Linked DNA regions of Homo sapiens: region 2 is linked to region 1. The links are contacts of gene promoters, found by promoter capture Hi-C in human tissues and cell types (Jung and others, 2019). All regions are on one chromosome and are shown on one strand. The core of a region is centred on a gene start or on the middle of the fragment in contact, and the rest is flanking DNA. Distances in the headings are between cores, read along the strand shown. Region 1 holds the start of DSG2 (desmoglein 2). Region 2 has its middle 21 kb from the start of DSG1.

Region 1 (7,693 bases), core at 3,675-6,174:
TGTCTGGTTTCTTTTCTTATGGACATTTCTCATCTCACTATCGACCACGGTAGGAATTCTGTTGTTCCAGCTTCTTCACTCTAATCACCAAGCTTTGCATATGACAAAAACTTAATAAAAAACAAAACTGAGAAGATAGTTTCTCATCATATGTAGACTATATGTTTATAAATTGTTGTCAAAGCTATTGAAATCTGTGTCAGAGTGAAAGACAAGGGAAAAAAGCTGTGATTAAAAATTGCTCAAATAGATCTAAAAGTCCTTTATGCTTTCAGTTAAAGTTCCTTCCTTCCTTTCTTCCTTCCTCCCTCCCTCCCTTCCTTTCTTCCCTCCTTCCTTCCTTCTTTTTTTTGACAGAGTCTCCCTCTGTCACCCAGGCTGGAGTGCAGTGGCACAATCTCGGCTCACTGCAACCTCCGCCTTCCAGGTTCAAGCGATTCTCCTGCCTCAGCCTCCTGAGTAGCTGGGACTACAGGCATGTGCCACCACACCCAGCTAATTTTTTGTATTTTTAGTCGAGATGGGGTTTCACCATGCTGGCCAGGCTGGTCTCAAACTCCTGACCTCAGGTGATCCGCCCACCTTGGCCTCCCAAAGTGCTGGGATTACAGGCGTGAGCCACTGTGCCCAGCCTAAAGTTTCTAATTTTAAATATAATTTGGCAGTTTTCAAAAACACTTATCCCTATTCAATGTGTAATTTTTCCCATGTAAATTTTTCTATGTCATAAATATAGATTTTTTTGCAAAATATAGACCAGTAATTCTCACGCTTACACTTGTCTGACAATTAGATCAATTGGGAAGTTTCTATAAATACATATTTATATTGTAGTGAGCCCGCCCCAGGGCTCACTACACTCACACACCACAGAATATTAGCCTTGGAAACTTTAATTTAGCTTATCGGGGATTTCTAATAATCAGAGAGTACGTAGGCCAATGAATGCTCATATCTCTTTGTAAAGTACTTGCCTTAAGTTATAATTAAAGAAAATTTCTGTTAAGAGCTGCCATTTTCCCATTACCTACTAACTTTTAGAAACAAAAACCAGTAAGAAATCCATGTTTCTAAAATCCTTGGATATGATAATTGATTATTCTTATGGCTTCAATATTCACCATCTAATTTATACTTTAATGTATTCTTTAATATATATTATTCAGTTGTATATTAGAACACTAAGCATAACTCTGATATTATTGATAATTTATAGATACTTGAATCCACTTGTTATGGATCAAATTATGACCCCTAAAAGATAATATATTGAAGTGCTAACCACCAGTACCTCAGAATGTGAGCTTATTTGGAAATAGGGTCTCTGCAGATTTAACCAAGCTGAGGTCATTATTTTGGGGCATAATCCAGTACAACCGATGTTCTTATAAAATGGGGAAATTTGGACAAGGACACAGACATGCACAGAGGGAAGATGATATAAAGAGACAAAAGAGAGAATGCCATGCGCAGATGGAGGATTGGAGTAATGAATGCACCTACAAGAGAAGGAATGACAAAGATTGCCAACAAACCAGTATGCACTTGGAAGAGGAAAGGAGGGAAACTGGTTTCAGAGGGAGCATGGCCCTGCCCATATCTTGATTTTGGATTTCTAGCCTCTGGAACTGTGAGATCATACATTTTTGTTGTTTTAAGCCACTCAGTTTTTAGCACTTCGTTACAGCAGTCCTAGCAAACTAATACCCTACTAAATATATCTGCTCACAGTGTGATCTGCTATCATTGAATCCTTAAAATGTAGTTTGATTTTAAAGCACAAGCTTCATTAGTCGAACCCAAAATTGAAGCAACCATCAGGAAATCTCTCACCCACGAGCCCTCCTTGGCAATCTGGCGAGGCCTATGAACCCCTTCTCAGATTAATGATTTCAAATGTATAAAATAAAATACAGGGGATTATCAATGAACCCAATTATATTGAAATAGTTATCAGCATTTTTAAAATACCAATTTGTGATGCAGCAGTATCATGTATTTTATTAACATATTAAGTAAAAGATCTAGTAGAAAGTCTATTAGTGATGTTCAGAATAAATGGTATTTTGAGATCACCATAAGATGTAAAGGTATTTATGAATTCTATTGTGATAGTCACAGCTACTGCTCACACTACTGTGCAGTGTCTTCCCCACACTCATAATTTAAAGAAATACTAAATTTCAGTCCGAAGTTAGTTAAAATATATATGTAATTAATTCCTTGCCATCTCTAGGAACTCTTTGAATTCTATCTGTGAACCATTTGGGAGTTGATGGATTGCAAAGAACCCTTGAAGAGGAAATATTCTCTGATTTTATTCAGAAAATTATTTCTTTTTCCCATTTTGATACAGCTGGCCTAAATGTTTGATAGCTATGTGGGTGACACAGCTACCTTCTGGTGTGTCTCCCTGCACTGCTGAGGAAAGCGAAAGACCATGTGTCACAGACTCCACTGCAGGCTTCGTTCTGAATGGGGTTTGGGTTCAATTAGTATTTACATGAGATTTGAAAGAAGGAAGTGAAACAGAGCTCTGTGCCTCCTGGCAAGCAGATATGGACGTATGGAGCTGGGTTCTTTGTAGTCATCTTATTATGGCTCTAGTGTCCAGCTACTAGATTTGTGAACACCAAGAGGCAAGGTACAAGCATCCATGTTGTTATGCATCCTAGCAGATGTGGCATGCATGGGTCTGCAGCTGGTAGCAAAAGTAGCACCCTGATCACAGCAGTTTTTCAGACTGTGGGAGTGGCAGTGCAGTTCCTGGTCACAGGAGAGGCAGCAGCTCCCTAAGCGGTGTGGCTCTGCTGTGTGGCTTTGAAGTCATTACTGACAGCTCAAATGGCAGTCTTCTCAATCCTTCCTACACTTAGGTAGTCAGTTTAGTGCCCCGAAATAAACCTATTCTTGCTTTAAATAGCTAGAGTAAATTCCGTTATTTGCAACTGAACTCTGATCTAACAGACTACAATTTATATTCCTTCCAATAAAGGACCTGTTTCCTTGGCAACTACTTCTGTCAGATGAGTTGCTTTCCATTTTTTTTTTTTTTTTTTTTTTTACCAAAAAACTGCAACTGCAAACACACTGGGGGTAAAATGCTGCATTGCCCACTACTCTCTGGACAAAAATAAACATATTCAAATTTATACTGCAGAAAGTTTTATAGAAAATACATAGAACAGTCCAAGAATTTTGCTCCTGTTCCATTGGCTATAGTCGCTTTCTAAAGGAGATGTTTATTACTGCCCAATAAGGTAAAAGTATCAAATTGCTAAAATGAAAGATATGCCTAATTTGCTTACCTGCTACTCTGTGAGTGTACAAATTGGCCTGATTGCTACATTATTTGAAGATTAAAGGTCATTTATTTTCATATATGGAAAGAATATGTAACTCTCAAAGTAAGCTAGGTGTTACATTAGCTTGGGATTCTCCTTAAACAAGGAAACATCAAGGTGACAGGATTAGTTGTTTTGCCAGCCCAGAGGCTAAAAACGACGTCCCAGATCACGTCTTAGAAAAGTTTTGTCAACAAAATGAATTTTCATTGAAAGTTACCTCAAGGACACGGGGAAAATGAAATGGATAAATAGAGCATGAAAATGAACTGTGTGCTAGGCCTGGACGCCCTAATTATCATGCTCTTCCACCTGAGAGTTCATGGAAATCTCTAGACTGGATTCAGTCACGCCTTTTTCCGTTTTGAGACACACACACACACACACACACACACACACGATTTTCTTCCACATCCCACCAAAACTCGAGGATAGAAGGGCTCATGTTTTGGAAGTTAGAACTTTGAATATAGTGAATGTATTTGCATTTTTAATTATTACGTAAGAAAACTGAGTATGATTTTGCATCTAATCTCTGTAAACACATATTTGTGAACTCTCTGGAAGGTGAACTCACACCTATATTTGCAGCATAACTGTCACTTTATTAAAACCCCTTTAGTAAACCCCTATAAGCGAGATACATACGTGCAACCCCTTAAACAAACAGAAAACCAACAGTTTAAAATCCAATTTGAGCAAAAGAACTCTAAATCCAGGGACTGAACGTCGTTTCCGGGAGTGAGGGGTGGGGCGTGGGGGAGGGGGCGCTACACTTCCATTTTCTGTAACCTTTTAAATGAATAAGGCTTCAAACTATTACATATGTTTATTATCTTTAATATTGGAAAACTTTTGAAACACCAACTTCATAAACTTTAAGTTAAAACTATATGTGGGTGATCCACTTAAAATTAAGCTTTGTAAATTACACCTTTTTAAAAAATTTTTAGCCAACTTTTTGCACTCTAAGAATACAAGTATGTTCCTGGTTTCCCCAGTTCACTGGCTTGTGTCGGCGGCTAGAGGAGCTGGGGAATCCTAGGGAAATTTAAGGAACGTGGAAGAAGCGCGAGGTTGTTCCCTATTGCCTCCACGTTTCTCGTCCCAGAGACTCTCAACAAAGCCTCCGACCCCCAGCAATGGTGTTCCCCGCCCCAGGGCTCACTACACCCACACACCACAGAAAAGGGCGCTGGGGCCTGGGTGACGCGGGAAGGAAAACACAACTTCGATAGGTCGCAACTTACTCTCCTGGCTCCAGCCAAGAGGATTTTCCGAAGCCCCAGGTCGGATCTCGCCGCAGCCTGCCCGGCCCTTTTCCCCCCTCGGGCAGCAGGAAGGAGCGCCGGGCAGGTAACGCGCACAAGGGCGGCGGGCAAGTCTGGTCGCGAGGTCTAGACCTCGCCTACCGACGCCCTCCCCGGCGGTGGCTCCCCTGTCCCGCTTGCGGCACTTACCAGGAGAAGCAGCAGGGCGTACGCGCGTCCCGGGCTCCGCGCCATCGCACCCTCGCCTCCGCCTCCCGCCGCCGCACCGCTCCGCGCCGCCGCCTGCCCCGAGCGCGCACTCGGCTCCTCCCTGGCCCCGGCCTCCCCCCGGCCCGGCCACCCTCTCCCTCCCCGCCCCGAGGGCTGTCTTCCCGTGGCGGTTGCGCGGCCCAGCCCAGCCCAACCCAAAGGCGCGGCTCCAGGTGTGGCCGCCGCGAGAAAATGGAGCCGGGGGCCGGCCCGGGCCGCTTTTACAGAGGTGGGGAGTTCAGCAGAGGAGGGAGGCGCGGGGTGGACTCCCGCCCGCTCGCACTCGCACCTGGGACCGTGACGTCCTTGGGTTGGGGACTGTGGGTGGCAGGCCCCGCCCCGCCGTTCTCTCCTTCCCGACCCCCTACTCTCTGGAGAATGGCGGGAGGAGGGAGCCTCCTGGCGGGGCTCGACCTGGGTAGCGCGGGTCGCAGGGCCCCGGCCCAAGGACAAAAGCTCCACGGAGCAGAGTCCTGCGGGACCAACCGGCCCAGTGGCTGCGGGGCCAGGCCGCCCAGCACCGCCCAAAGGTCCCGCACTTTGTGATTGTGCTTTGGGCCCGGAGCGCAGGTGTCGCTAGTGACATGGGGACCCGTGTCCTCAGGAAAGCTGCGACCGCGGTGCGTTCGGCCCGCTCTCCTGGAGCGGAGGTTGTGGAGCAGAATTTCAGGTGGCTGTCTCCCCAAAGGCTGCTCTTCCCTATGGCCCTTCACTGCTTCCAACAGGTTTGCAGCTTATCTGGCTCAAGGAGAAACAATCACCAGAGGTCAAAAAGGACAATTCTTGGGCTAGGAGAAAACTCTAGGGTGTTACGGGAAATATATATATTCTTTGAAATGATTTACAATTTCTATTACACCACTAGCTAGATCAGAGGCCCCGCTCCAAGAGTGACTAGCTGAGTGGCCTGGACTAGCCTCTCTGGGCCCCAGTTTCCAGATCTGTCAAATGGAGTTAATAGCGACCAACGCACGGGGAAGTTTTGAGAACGAAATTGGAAAATCTTAGGTAAAGCATTCTGCAGTGTCTAGAACTTAAGGGTTCAATAAATAATTGTTAAAATTAGAACAACGTGATTGCGAGGTGAGATGTTAAATTGACATCTTGAAAAGCAGAAACTTAGTATGGGCATCCAAACACTAGAATCAGCACCGGATTACGAAACTTCCAAGAAATGTAACGACTGAAAGTAATGGACGAGCCTATTGTTCTGTGCGAGAAAGGCGCAAGGGGAGAAGAAAAGACACACACACCATACTTTTAAGGGTAAACAACCTTTATCCCAATTAAATGGCAACGCGGATATAATAAGCAAATGATATAATAAGCAAATTGCAATGGGAAGGGGAGAAGGAAAAGATATATTTATAGGTACACTCACCAGACTGTGGAGGATTCACCACCACACCGGGAAGCAACAGCCTGGGCTCCAGAGTCGGACACTACACTCACCAGACTACAGAGGATTCTCATGAAGTTTCCTCATGGTCTGGGACCCTAGCTCTTATCGTAACAAGTTGTTTGGCATGAGACCCAGTCACAAGGGCCCTTCCCGACTGGACTCAAGGAACACAAAAAGGTCAACTTGTGTTTGCGATTGTCTGTTGTGTTTCAATAACTAACAAATAGGAATTTAAATAGAGATTTATTTGAAACAGCGCTCGATGAATTCCTCAAGGGGCTCACACCACCTGTTCTGGGACTTGGTGGCCATTGTTTGTGTCCATGTTCAATTGAGTTCAAATTTAATATTTAAGTTTTCCTCCACATTCGGCTTCAATCTGATACTCAATCGCAGGAAAATACCCCTACAGATACATGGGGAAGGCATAGTTGATAGAGATTACAGATACAGGGTAAGCACAGGAGAATTAAAAGCAAAATTAATAACACACCCATCATGGCTTTGCAAGGAGAGTAATATTGTGAGAATTGTCAGGGATATACACATAACATCCAGTGCAGTAAGGTGCAAACCCCTCCTTGGGCTGCAGTAAGCATATCTAATGCCTTTCCATTTGCAACACAACAGTACATAGCTGAGCAAATTCATCTGATAACAACATACATCCAGTGCTACTATCATTAAGAGCTTTTCTTAGAAGTGAGCTTAATGTTTTAATTTGTTGCTGAAGCAGGATTGTATCAGCTGCAGGGGAGAATGCTGTGATAGGATACCACCCCTACGGAGTCGGATGCATTCTAACCAGGGATGTTTGTAAGCATCTAGATTACTGGGGAGGGGAATATTATCCCGGATGGTGAATGGAATTAATGGCCACCCCCAAGTGCATATCCCCATCCAATATGGGGGCAGGTATCGCTACCCATAGGATCCGCATACCCAGAGGGCCCCGCAGGGGACAGCAATGGAGTTACTGTAATCATAGTGTACTAATGTGTTATAAAAGTAGGAAAGAGATTGTGTTTCATTGGGGGTAATGTTGTTGATTTGGAGCATGTGTTGACAATTGTCTGGCAGGAGAAACCCCAGAGTACCAAGGCTTGGTTTGGTCAAAGAAAGTCCAGGTTGGATTGCAAGTGTTGTTGTTGTGGTCCCATTGGTAGCGACATAGTCATTCAGAAATGTTAGCAGGGAGGATTCTCCAAGGTAGCTCATTCCCACATAGCCAACATTGACTGTGGTTGGCTTCCTCTGCAGCGGTGGCTACCCAGTTGATGAATTTAATCTTGGCGTCAGACACAAAGACACAGGTGCTGACCATTAGTAGATAGGTTATTCCATGTGATAACAAAAACAGAGGGGAACATGATATTGTTTTTCATCTTTAGGAAATTGTAGTGTGCTTCATTTTCTGCTCCTATAGC
Region 2 (6,909 bases), core at 3,147-5,646, 200 kb after region 1:
TGATGGATAATAAATTTACAGAGGCCTGCCAACTAGTAAAATTCAACAATTTATTTATTCATGCAATAAACATGGATTGAGTTCTTATTATGTTTCAGATGCTATGCTGGGTGTTGAGGAGTGAAGATACTCATAAGGAGGTCACAGTCCAGAGAGCATGATGCCCTCATGGAGAAAATGCAAGCACTGTTTTGTATTTATAGGTATATTATTTATTTTCCTCAGGTCAGAGGAGCCCAGCCTGTAAGCTAGGAGCTTAGAGGGCTGAAATAATTGCAAGGAACCTCTGAAATCTTACATTTACTCATCAAATTTTATAGACTTATTAATTGATAGATACAAATTTATATATTTTCCATTCATTATTTAAAGTAAATGAATAGTAAATATGTCCAAGTAGCTATTCAAATTTTCAAATATTTATAAAAATCATCTCATTTATAAAATCCAATAAAATTAATAAAATGTAAATTAAATTAGTTGTAGCTTTAGTCATTTTTTGGTAGATATTAACAGTAATATTACAATATAGTAAAAAGGTTTTTATCTAAACACAAGCTAAATCAATATTTAAAAGGAGACTCTCATATTCTAAAAATACAAACCCTTGGAGAACCACTGACCATTTAAACTGCTAACATAAGTGAGCCAAGACATAGTTTTTAAAACAAATAATGAGTAATTTATTACTATTGTTTTTTCAACCACAAAGAATTTTTAGTTTGTAATATTTAATGTTATAGTCTTTGATTTATTCCACTGGTGTTTACTGAGTGCCTACAACAACTATATGTTGCATCTGGCACAGAATATTGTATAAAAACTTGATATGTATTTTTGAGATTAACTATTTAAAAACAAGATATATGAATAAGTTAATTTTTCTGTAATGACTCTATTTTTCTCATTAATTTGTACATAAGATGTTAATGTTTCAGATAAAATGTAATTGACCTTGCTAAATAATACTGTCTTCAGGTAAAAATGCAGGCAAAAAATGAATGCAGCACAATGTCTTTTTTATTACAAAAACTGGAAAAAACTTAGATATCCTCTAATCTGCTCCATGACCTGATATTTATTTATTTATTTGTTTTTTCACAAATACAACCTTTATTGTTAGCAGGGTCTCTACTAAGGGAATAGCAGAGATTACAAATATGAAAAAGTAACCCTGCCCATAAAGAAAAATGGGTGTAAAATGACCAGATACACAGAGTCTGGAACTTTCCCTTTGTGTCTGTTTCTGCCTAGACTCCTTATTATGAGTTTATTTGTTTATTTTTTATATTTTTATTTATTTATTTATTTTTGGAGACAGAGTCTTGCTCTGTCACCAGGCGCAATCTCTGCTCACTGCAACCCCCGCCTCCTGGGTTTAAGCGATTCTCCTGACTCAGCCTCCCGAGTAGCTAGGACTACAAGTGCATGCCGCCTGTATGTTTAGTAGAGACCCGGTTTACCATGTTGGCCTGGAAGATCTCTATCTTTTGACCTAGTGATCTGCCCGCCTCGGCCTCCCAAAGTGCTGGGATTATAGGCGTGGGCCACTGTGCCCTGTCCTATTTTTTTATTTTTTATTCTATTTTAAGTTCTGGAATACAAGTGCAGAATGCGTAGGTTTGTTACATACGTATACATGTGCAATGGTGGTTTGCTGCACCTATCAACCTGTCATTTAGGTTATAAGCCCTGCATAAATAAGCCATTTGTCCTAATGCTCTCCCTCCCCTTGCCCCCAACCCCATGACTGGCCCCAGTGTGTGTTGTTCCCCTCCCTGTGTCCATGGGTTCTCATTGCTCAACTCCCACTTCTGAGTGAGAACATGCAGTGTTTGGTTTTCTGTTCCTGTGTTAGTTTGTTGAGGATGATGGCTTCCAGCTTCATCCATGTCCCTGCAAGGGGATATGATCTCATTCTTTTTTATGGCTGCATAGTATTCCATGGTATATATGTGCTGTATTTTCTTTATCCAGTCTATCATTGATGAACATTTGGGTTGGTTCCAAGTCTTTGTTATTGTAAATAGTGCTGCAGTTAACATACATGTGCATGTGTCTTTACAGTAGAATGATTTATATTCCTTTGGGTATATACCCAGTAATGGGATTGCTGGGTCAAATGGTATTTCTAGTTCTAGATCCTTGAGGAATTGCCACACTGTCTTGCACAATGATCGAACTTACTTACATTCCCACCAACAGTGTAAAATCATTTCGCTTTCTCTACAGCCTCACCAGCATCTATTGTTTCTTGACTTTTTAATAGTCACCATTCTGACTAGCATGAGATGGTATCTCACTGTGGCTTTGATTTGCATTTCTCTAATGACCAGTGATGTTGAGCTTTTTTTCATGTGTTTTTTGGCCACATAAATGCCATGATCTCATATTTAAATTACCCCCTTATATCATATGTTTGATGGGAAATTGTGAAGAATTTGTTAAACTTTTCAAAGCTCATAAATGAATAAATGTATTGCAGTAAACCTAAATAGTGTTGTTTATATTTAAATAAGTAAAGGGATATAAGCACTGAAAGTGAAAATGTAATAAAAAATCAGAAATTCTGTTAGTGTGATTATCTACCATATGCATTTTACTGCAGTAGAGATAGCAGACAAAAAGATTTTCAAATTTAATGAACGTAGTTGAACACCTCCTTAACTCCTAACTTTAAAGTATATTTTACATGAAATGTTCACTTCTTTTGCATTCTTAGGAAATGAATCAATCACCATCTTTTGAAACATCCTTATTTTTAAGGACGGAGTATACAGTTTAGTTTATTTAATTGTCTTTGAATTTCAGAAAGTTGTGGCATTTAAAACTGAAGATTATCTAAATTTGCTAAAACATAAGTTGATGCTCTAGTATTTTGGGTCATGTGTAGGACTAGCCAATACTTGATAGCATTGAGCAAATGAGTAGATTGTGACAGTCTTATCCATCTTCTCAATCTAACTGCTTATATACCTAAGGGCCTGTTGCTTACTAGGGGCTATTACACATCAGGATGGTATTTGCAGAATCTAGCCAGGTGATGGCTTTCTTGAACATTGGACAGCTGTTGAATTTGTGAGAACGATGCATACAAAAGTTCACTAGACCCCTACCTGAAAGCAGTATCGGGTCAAAGTGATGATTTATTTGTATTTATATGTATATTATTCACCAAATTCTCTAACTTGGGGGTAAATATTTGATTTAAACAGTAAGCCCTTAATTTCAAAATGATTTTGGAAACTCTTGCATGCATCACCTTCACAAATTCATTGACGGTCCAATGTTCAGGAAAATCATTACCTGGCTAGATTCCGCAAAATGATTTTGAAATTTGAGACATTACTAAAAGCTAAATGGTCTTTCTTTTACTGCCGAACCAAATATTTGTTCCTTTAGATATACCTCCCAGATAATGCCATAACCATAAATGCTACCTCACACTCAGCTTATGAGGCATGTCTAAGTTGAATTAGAATAAAACTTATGAAACTCAGGAAGCATTTGACCATTGTCCTATGTCCACTGCTATCTTATTATCCTGTGAGCTGGTATAGTTGCTTTATGTCAATATTACTATTATTTTGGTAAATTAATAGGTCTGCTAAATGTATATTCTCAGTGAGAACTTGTTAAACTTGTTTGTTTCTGAGTAGGTGTGCCCAATTAGCATAAATTCATACTCAGACTTGTTATTTCTTTGGACCAACTTAAGTTATTCACATAGAACTTAGCTTTGTTGGGAGGCCGAGGCGGGCGGATCACGAGGTCAGGAGATCGAGACCATCCCGGCTAAAACGGTGAAACCCCGTCTCTACTAAAAATACAAAAAAAAAATTAGCCAGGCGTAGTGGCGGGCGCCTGTAGTCCCAGCTACTTGGGAGGCTGAGGCAGGAGAATGGCGTGAACCCGGGAGGCGGAGCTTGCAGTGAGCCGAGATCCCGCCACTGCACTCCAGCCCGGGCGACAGAGCGAGACTCCGTCTCAAAAAAAAAAAAAAAAAAAAAAAAAAAGAACTTAGCTTTGAAGACAATGCATTCTTAATATTTCAAACACAGAAGCTTTAAGAAAAGAACTAATTTTTAAAAGTTTCACATCATTTGTGACATTATAAATCAGCTTTTCTTGGTAGTATTCCAGAAAGTTATGGTTAATTTTTGAAGACAATGCATTCTTAATATTTCAAACACAGAAGCTTTAAGAAAAGAACTAATTTTTAAAAGTTTCACATCATTTGTGACATTATAAATCAGCTTTTCTTGGTAGTATTCCAGAAAGTTATGGTTAATTTTTATAACATCTTTTGTTCATTTTTAATTAAATTGTTCCTTGAGAAGAATTGTCATGTCTTTTGGTCTCAGGGTTCTTTTTCACAAAGGAAAAATGGTAGGTTGGTTGAAGTGTGGCTGCTTTTAGTTCTAACAGGTTGTGATTCTAGGAAGTAAATATTTTTGTAATAAGTACATTTTCTTATGAGAAAGGAAATTTTAAAATTGCATTAAGAGTAGCTGCTGCATAGTTGGTTGTGTGTGTGTGTGTGTTTTTTTTCTTTTTGAGACAGAGTCTCACTCTGTCGCACAGGCTGGAGTGCAGTGGCACGATCTCAGCTCACTGCAACCTCCACCTCCCAGGCTCAAGCGATCCTCCTGCCTCAGCCTCCTGAGTAGCTGGGATTACAGCTACTGTAATCCTACTGTAGTAGTAGCTGGGACAGGCGCCCACCATCATGCCCGGCTAATTTTTTGTATTTTTACGTGAGACGGGGTTTTACTACATTGGCCAGGTTGGTCTCGTCCTCTTGACCTCAAGTGATCCACTTGCCTCAGCCTCCCAAAGTTCTGAGATTACAGGTGTGAGCCACCGCACCCTGCCACAGTTGGTTCTTATTGTAATATATAATTCCAGTGTTTTATATTTAATTAGAAAGAATACGCTAATTATTAACATCAATTTATTGCACTAAGAGAGCCCATGCCATCTTCAAAATTTAAAAAAGTCTGTCGAATATGAATGTTTCCTGTGAATTTCATCTTGCAGAGAGTAAGATTATAAGGTAATGGATGAAACCAGAATATCACTCTGATCATAAAAACCTAGAAAAACCTCTAAATTACCGACAAACAACAATATACTTTGTGAACATAAACTTACGTAGTGGTATAAAGTTACACATGTCTGATGGAGGAGGTAGGGTAGTAGTCGTGGAGTGTGTCAGCCTGGGTTTAAACCCTGGTCCAATCACTTCCATCTATGTGACCCCGGGAAAGTTATTTAACCTTTCTGTACCTCAGCTTCCTTATTGATAAAATAGGACTAATACCAGCACCTACCACATAGTGTTAGGAGAATTAAGTGATTTAATATATGTGCCAGGCACAGAGCAAGTGCTGAATAAGTGTTGGCTATTATAATTACAACACTGAAATATACATAATATATTAAAGTACATGCATCCTATCTAAATTCCCATTGTTTTTCAAATGTGTGGTTGAATTCACAGGAATTAATTTTGCATATGATATATTTGGTGTATTTGGTTCCTTCCTCTGGTGTGTTATATTAATTTATGTTTTCTTCAGTGTATAGGTATATACACTTGGTAAGAGTGTAAAAGGTATTTCTTGTGATGGGTTATGGTAAAAAAACAAAAGGGATTAAACATGACTGTCCCATAGCATCCAAATTCCTCCCTAGTTAAGTGCCTTCTGAAAATTAAAGCCTTAGTTTTTTTTTTTTTGCTTTCTCTAGTGAACAATGAGCAGTAAAACTGGCTCCAGGGATGGAGAGTGAAGATAATGGTATAACTAGCTTGGGAGAGCAGGCGATCGCCTCAGGGTGTCCACTGGGCGAGGAGCAGAGGCGGCAGGTGGGGAGGTAGAAATGGGTGGAGAAGTCCCAGAGCAAGCAGTAACCTGTGCTCAGACTCTGGGCTGGGCTGGACTGATGGGTGGGGAGGCTTCTCTGCGATTAGGCATGTTTGGTCCTTGAACAGATTGAGTGCAGGTTGAGAGAAAGGAGAGAAAGTGTGAAAGTGTTTTAGGGCATGTAATGCAGTTCTAAGGAGGATAGCACTGTTGAAACTTGGGAAGGAAAAGAGAGGAATAGATAGGGCAGGGGCAAATGGTGAGGGGTGTTGGGGAGAAGTGATAAAAATGAAAGTTGGAATCAATTGAATAAGATTTGGGCCAGGTGTAGTGTCTCTTGCCTGTAATCCCAGTACTTTGGGAGGCCATGGCAGGAGGATCACTTGAAGCCAGGAGTTTGAGACCAGCCCGGGTGATGTAGTAAGACCCTGTCTCTACAGAAAAAAAAAAATCAGTCAGGCAAAGTGACATACATCTGTTAATTCCAGCTCCTCAGGAGGCTGAAGTGGGAGGATTCCTTGAGCCCAGGAGTTGGAAGCTGCAATGAGCTATGATTATTCCATTGCACTCCAGACTGTGCAGAATGAGACCCTATCTCAAAAACATAAAAAAAGGGAAAAGAGTCTGTACACACTAGACTCCTTATGACTGAAATGATGTGCTAGTGCTCCTTAAGCTAAATTGAACCTAATAATTAGGCCAATAAGACCTAAATTGAACAATGGCAAATCAATGCAATGGTGTGGTTCACAGGTTGTACTGTTTGCAGTGTTTACGAACAAAAAGTTGTTGCTGCATGAGTAAAGTCCGAAGTTTCATTTCTGGAGCTAATGATGAGCCTTTATCTAATTGTAGTCTTCATAAGGAATTAAAAAAGCACAAAGGGTATTGATGTGATTTTCAGTGTGATATGTTTGGAGACTTTTCTAAGGAGATATTGAACCATCCAGGAAACTAGCCAAAGGTTGTAGTTATCCATTAAATCTGATAAACAAATTGTAGAGAAGCACAAAAAGGCAGTCTGTGAGAAAAAGTAAAAGTA

The links. The method cuts DNA at HindIII sites, captures the fragments that hold promoters and counts their contacts. A contact is called where the count stands out against the background at its distance.
Region 2: a contact is called between a fragment that was not itself captured here and the fragment with the promoter of DSG2 in region 1, in 1 of the 25 tissues and cell types used here (H1 embryonic stem cells).

The regions. Positions count from the first base shown.
Region 1 is chr18:31,495,408-31,503,100 of GRCh38, reverse strand. It overlaps DSG2 (desmoglein 2), which reads right to left and starts at 4,924. Exons shown (of 15, transcript NM_001943.5): 1 at 4,805-4,924. The coding sequence starts at 4,849. RefSeq lists enhancers at 2,570-2,679, 5,395-5,534 and a silencer at 4,725-5,194. The HindIII fragment of the contact is 8,335 bases long and covers 3,025-7,693 here.
Region 2 is chr18:31,293,528-31,300,436 of GRCh38, reverse strand. No RefSeq gene overlaps it. Among named protein-coding and RNA genes, the nearest start is that of DSG1, 21 kb to the left of the region's middle. The HindIII fragment of the contact is 5,468 bases long and covers 1,663-6,909 here.